Regions from separate parts of the Homo sapiens genome. Here region 2 is linked to region 1. Evidence: promoter capture Hi-C in human tissues and cell types (Jung and others, 2019). All regions are on one chromosome and are shown on one strand. Each heading gives the region's core, a stretch centred on a gene start or on the middle of the fragment in contact. The rest is flanking DNA. Distances are from core to core; before and after follow the strand shown. Region 1 holds the start of S100P (S100 calcium binding protein P). Region 2 has its middle 16 kb from the start of WFS1.

What was found. Contacts are between HindIII fragments. The study calls those that stand out against the background at their distance.
Region 2: a fragment that was not itself captured here is called in contact with the fragment with the promoter of S100P in region 1 in 1 of the 25 tissues and cell types used here (dorsolateral prefrontal cortex).

Annotation. Positions count from the first base shown.
Region 1 is chr4:6,692,311-6,695,373 of GRCh38, forward strand. S100P (S100 calcium binding protein P) reads left to right here and starts at 1,568. Exons shown (of 2, transcript NM_005980.3): 1 at 1,568-1,760. The coding sequence starts at 1,623. RefSeq lists enhancers at 252-789, 1,099-1,835, 1,836-2,571. The HindIII fragment of the contact is 18,883 bases long and covers 1-3,063 here.
Region 2 is chr4:6,251,838-6,254,900 of GRCh38, forward strand. No RefSeq gene overlaps it. Among named protein-coding and RNA genes, the nearest start is that of WFS1, 16 kb to the right of the region's middle. The HindIII fragment of the contact is 7,012 bases long and covers 1-3,063 here.

The DNA.
Region 1 (3,063 bases), core at 318-2,817:
GGAACTGCCCAGCTCAGGAGTGAGCAGAATGGACCTGTCCCTGCTCCCCAAGGGGTCACCAGTGGGGCCAGTCTGAGCCTCCACTGCAGGACACCTGGGCAGAGGCAGTGTGTTCTGAGAAAGCCGGCTCTTGTGAGACCTGCTGCTGCCATCGTGCACCAAGGTTTTTCTATGTTGAGCCACAGCCCCGTGGGGAGAGTCTCGGCCCATGTGCTGGTGGAGGCTGTGTTGGGAGAGGTTAGGGAACTTGCTGGAGGCTGACACTCTGGAAGATCTCTGCTGAGAGAGAGGCCTTTGAGTGTGGGCCTACTTTGACCGGGGCAGGATGTGAACACAGGCCCCTACCTCCATGCTCTCCAGGACTCGCTCAGCCTCCCAAGCACAGACCCTCTGAGTACCTCCGCTATAGAGACGGGGAGGGGTGTGACTGTCCCTGACTCTGCCCAGAGTCCCAGGAGCCTTTGTGCCGTCTAAGCCCTGTGGGTGATTTGGGTTTGGTAAGTGCCGGGGCTCAAAAAACAACACCCCAACGTGGAAGCCTCAGAAACAAAAGTTTCTCTGTCCTGCTCCCACCCTCCTGTCTCCAGCTCCTCCTCCTCTGAGAGGCTTCCCCAAACCCTGCCATAAAACCCAGAAATATGACTCCAGTTCTCCACTCCCTCCCCTTTCTGTGTAGAAACCAGCCTAAAGAAACCCTCTGGCCTGCTTTATTTGACTGTAGGTCATAAGAGCTCCATTCCAGAAAGAGTCCTGCCCCACACCTAGAAGGAAGGAGAGCTGCTCAGAGAGGCCCCAGGGAATCTGACTCAACAGGCCCTACCAGGCTCTCCTCTTGGTCTGTGAGCATCCAGCCTTACTTTTGTATCCAATCATATTTCCATACTTCGCTGAACTGTGTTTATGGATAGTTTCCACCAGATCTTTGGATCTTCATCTTGAAGGCTGCCGTGCCACATAAGCTATGATCAAATACATCTGTTATGCTCTTCTCCTATTCATCTGCCTTCTGCCCGTTGATTTTCAGCAAACTCCCAGAGGATGAAGGGGAGTTTTCTGTTTGGCCCCACAGGGGAGGAGCGAGCGAGATTGACGTGGAAGCTGGGCCTCTGAAGGACACAGAGTGCTCTAAGAAAGGGACGATGGGGCAGATCCATGTTCACAAACACGCCCATGTGAATTCACTCTCAGATGTCTCCTCGTGTCAGCACGCTGGGTGCCAGCACGCTCTGATATTGACACAAAGGGCCACGGAGTCACCACTCACTCCACACACACTCACCCCGTGCCCACTTACCCAGGGAGGGCCAGGAATGAGGATGCCACTGTGGCTCAGTGATGGCGCCGAGACACAGGTGAACACTGTAAAATGTGGATGCCTGGAGGCAGCCCACACCCTGGGCCTTGGCTGGGGGAAAGGTTCCAGAAACGTCATCACAACGATGCATTTCATCAGAACTGAGCACATGAATGGGGAGGGGCAGGACTTCCTGAATGTCCCAACCCCACTGTCCCACCCTCTGTGTCAATATGAGGCTGCCTTATAAAGCACCAAGAGGCTGCCAGTGGGACATTTTCTCGGCCCTGCCAGCCCCCAGGAGGAAGGTGGGTCTGAATCTAGCACCATGACGGAACTAGAGACAGCCATGGGCATGATCATAGACGTCTTTTCCCGATATTCGGGCAGCGAGGGCAGCACGCAGACCCTGACCAAGGGGGAGCTCAAGGTGCTGATGGAGAAGGAGCTACCAGGCTTCCTGCAGGTGAGCCAGGCCGGCAGTGCTGGACTCAGCGGGGGCTGGGGAAGAAGGGGAAGGCGTGGCAGGCAGAGGGCTGAGAGCTGCGGTGGGGTCGGCGGTCAAGGGGCTCAGAGGCAAGAGGGACAGATCCTGAAATGCCCTGGAAGCCCAGCCAAGGAACGGACCCACCCTGGCATAAAGGCAGGGGAGGCGGGAGCATCTGAGCAGGGAGAGGGTGTGGTCAGCTTGATCCTTGAAACATGGGGTTGACCCCAGTGTATTTGTGACAGGCCTGGTGGGAGAGTGGGACTCAAACCTGTGCAGTGGGGGCAGGGGCGGAATGCAATCCAGGGCTGCCATTTGCAAGTTTGCCAAGCTTGCCAAGCCCTTGAGCCCTCGGGGCTGTCCTCCAAGGCTGCCGGCCATAAACGCCCCAGCTCTGCCTCCCACTTGCCCGCTTTCCCTGCTCCCATTCCCAGGCCCCTTGTTGCCTGGTATTAGTGGGTCTGGCAGGAAGGACGGGAGGAGGCTCCATCCTGGCACCTGTCTGCGCAGAGCTGTGGACCTCCCTTGGGCTCCCTGCCAGGGAGGAGCCACCGGCCTGAGCCTCACAGAAGGCCCCTCAGGGCGGCCAGGACCAGCTTCCTTCCGCCCGGGGCAGCCTCCGGCTGGGCTGAACAGAAGCCGTACCCTCTCCATTTCCCCTTCCCTTTGACCCCTGTCCTCTCCTTCTTTCTCACTCCCCCACTTTCTTCCTTCCTTCCCCTCCCCTTCGGGCCCCACCAGACTCTGCCTACCTGCTAAGGGGCTAACCCACATAGATGCTGATAATCAAAAATGAAAGCCTGAAATTTTCAGCCCTAGAATCACTTCAAAGACATGAAACACTTCAGAATATTGCTTCTATTTTCTTTTCTTTTCTTTTTTTTTTTTTTTGAGACAAGATGTCACTCTGTCACCCAGGCTGGAGTGCAGTGGCAGGATCACGGCTCACTGCAGCCTCGACCTCCCTGGGCTCAGGTGATCCTCCCACCTCAGCCTACCGAGTAGCTGGGACTACAGGTGCATGTCACCATACCCGGTTAATTTTTGTATTTTTTTTAGAGACAAGGTCTCACCATGTTGCCCAGGCTGGTCTCAAACTCCTGTGCTCAGGCAATGCGTCAGCCTCGACATCTCAAAGTGCTGTGATTACAGGCGTGAGCCCCGACACCTGGCCTAGTTCTATTTTCTAAATGTGAATTCTGTAAAGATATCTTTTAAAAATAAAGTTCTGTTTTTGGTAGAAAATGTAAAAATAGATAAATATGGAGGGAAGAAATCCCCC
Region 2 (3,063 bases), core at 188-2,687, 440 kb before region 1:
CTGGGAGGCCCTAGAATTTGGAGTGTCTGGCAGGCCTGGACTGTTAAGGTGCCCAGCATTCCAGAGGCGATGGCACATTTGTCTGTGTCAAGGAGGCTCTGGGCATGGGTAGGGAGGTGCGAGGTAAGAGAGGGCAGAGCTGAGGGCACAAATCCAGCCATTTCACAGATGGGGAAACCAAGGTTCAGAGGAGGACATGGCTATAGCCCAGGTCCCTGTAGCCCGGAGTCAGTGGTGGAGCCAGGACTTGAACTCAAGTATTGGAGTGCAAAAGGCAGCAGCCCAAATGCTGACGGCATCCTAGCGAGGGCTCTGAGCCCTGGAGTCGAGTGGGTGCTTGTTGCCTGGGTCTCTGGGGGAGCTCGCACTCCCTGGCATTCTCATGGGCACCTCCTGCCCCAGGCAGAGCTCCAAGCCTTGGCCAGCAGAGCAGGACAGGCCTGCAGGGGCTGCCCACGGACCTAGTGTTCTCGGGGTTTCTGCCAAGGTAACAAGAGCAGGGAGGGCTCCCTCCCCACGCTGGATCCTGTCCAGTCCTCTGCTTGGCTCCAGGGGCACTAACTGGGACCCTCAAGCCTGCTGGGCCACAGTGGTAGGCCATACCATCCCAGAGCATGGCTCTGACCAGGCCACTCCCCTGCTTAAAGCCTCTAGGGGCCGGGCACAGTGGCTCAAGCCTGTAATCTCAGCACTTTGGGAGGCCGAGGCGTGCGGATCACAAGGCCAGGAGTTCGAGACCAGCCTGGCCAATATGGTGAAACCCCATCTCTACTAAAAATACAAAAATTAGCCAGGCGTGGTGGTGCCCACCTGTAATCCCAGCTACTCGGGAGGCAGGAAAATCGCTTGAACCCAGGAGGCAGAGGTTGCAGTGAGCTGAGATCCCACCACTGCCCTCCAGCCTGGGCGACAAGAGCAAGACTTCATCTTGGGGGAAAGAAAAAGCCTTTAGAGGCTCCCTATTGCCTGGGTGATACAGCAGGTGGCATCCTCACTCCTCAGCCTGGTGTTCAATGCCTTTGGCTTGGGACCCACCCTCCTTGGCCATGCACACCAAGCTGTCCTGCCCAAGGGCATCTCTTGCTGGGCCCACCTAAGCCCACGCATGCCCGCCCACCTCCCTCTTTCCATCTCTATTTATAGAGCCCCTGCCGGGTGCCAGGCAGTGCTCTAGGCACTCGGGGGCAATGGTGAGCAAACGGAGCCCTCCCTCTTTGGACTCATGTTCTAATGGGAGGCAGGCGAAGAAATCAACAGCTAAGCTTATGGCACCCAGCAGGGAGGAAGGAAGGGGGACGGGATGGGAGGGCTGCAGTGTCCCCTAGGGTGGCCAGGGAGGGTGTCTGAGAAGGTGGCACATGTGTTGGGATCATGAACTCTGGGCGTGGCTGTGTAGCATCCAGGCAGAGGGAACAGCAAGTGTAAGGACCTGAGGCAGGAGTAGGCTCAGCATGTTCCAGGACCAGCAAGGCCAGCTTGAGGCCAGTGAGCAAAAAAACAGTGGAGGTGGGAGATGGGGCCCACGGGTGACACCGCCAGGCCACGCAAGGCCTTGGGGGCATTGGAAGGACTTTGGCTTTTACATTGAGAAGACAGAGCTCCTGGAGGGCTTTGTCCAAGGACTGATGAGCCCAGACATCACTGGCTGCTCCGGTGAGCCTGGAGGGCAGACAGGGGAGGAAGTGGGGAGACCATGGGAGGTGACCCGTTTCCGTAAACCTGAACCCCTGCAGATGCCATTCCATCTACCTGAGCCCCTCCCTGCAAGCTGTGTTCGGAGAACGCCTATATGTTCACGAAAGCTAAGCTCAAATGCCACGTGCCTGCTCCTTCCTGCACCCCAGGTAGAAACACCCTCGTTTGCCTCTCAATTCCCACTTTCTTTGAGCACTGTTTTTGAAAGCACCTGCTTTGTAGACCCCTACAGAAATTCTCACTTGTGAGCATCTCCTGCTCTGGTACCAGATGCTGAGCCCTTGCAAGAGAGCAGGGAGCTGGGCTGGTTTTGCCATCATGGAGCAGTGCACCTGGCCTTCTGCACAGGCCCCCAAGCCACCCAGCAGGGCCTTCTGGGTAGCCTCACCCAGACCAACGGAATCAAAATCTGTGTTGGGGTGGGGGGCTTGAGCTTCTGCTTTTAAAATTCTTCCAGGGGTTTGGGTTAATTTGTCTCCCTGGGGCTTTGTGTTAATTTGTCTCGCTGGGAGTAGGGCCCAGCGAGATCGTCCTAAATTCAAATCCTGCAGCAGCCATAGTAGCTGTGGGATGTGGTCACTTAATCTCGCTGAGCCTCGGTCCCTCTTCTATAGCCCCAGGTGCCCAGCAGGCCGACAGAGGCTGTGGCCGCCTCTCCCACCTCTTTGAATTGGGCTGAGAGACAGACGCGCACCTTCCGGAGAGGACCGTCAGGCTGAAGAAGACACAGCTAGTGTCTAACGGGAGGGTAGGTTCTAAGGAAGTGAAGATTTATGAGAGAAATGAGTGAGTGTGATCATGTGTCTCATACCACAGCGTGTGAGTCCGTGCAAACGCCATGTCTGTCCCCTCTCAGGAGAACCCTCTCTCAGAGCTATGAAAATCCTTACCTTGCCTCATTCAGACTCTCAAAGTCTGAACTCTGTCACTTTAGAGCACAGGACTCAAATGTGACTGTGCTCAGGAATCAGATGGGGGTTGGGTTAACATGCACATTCCCATGGGCAGGTCCAGGGCAGGGCCCAAGATTGCATTTCTAGCTCATCCTTGGTGATGCTGGCACCACTGGTCCACAGATGGCACTTTGAGCAGCAAGATTGCAGCCCCTAAGCCCTACTGACATAGAATCTGCAATGTAACACTATCTCCAAGAGATGCGTTTGCACACTAATGTTTGAGAATTACCAGTGCAGAGACTTGGAAGAATGCTTATTTTGGGGTTCAGCATGCCCTAGAGAGAGGCCAAGAATACGTTTGTCATTCTGGTCTCCTTTCAATAACTGTGAGTGCCTCTTGGTTTATTGTTAGACATTGAGTTATTCAGATAATTCCTAGTCAGCTCCACAAAAGCCCTATGTGAGTGTGTGC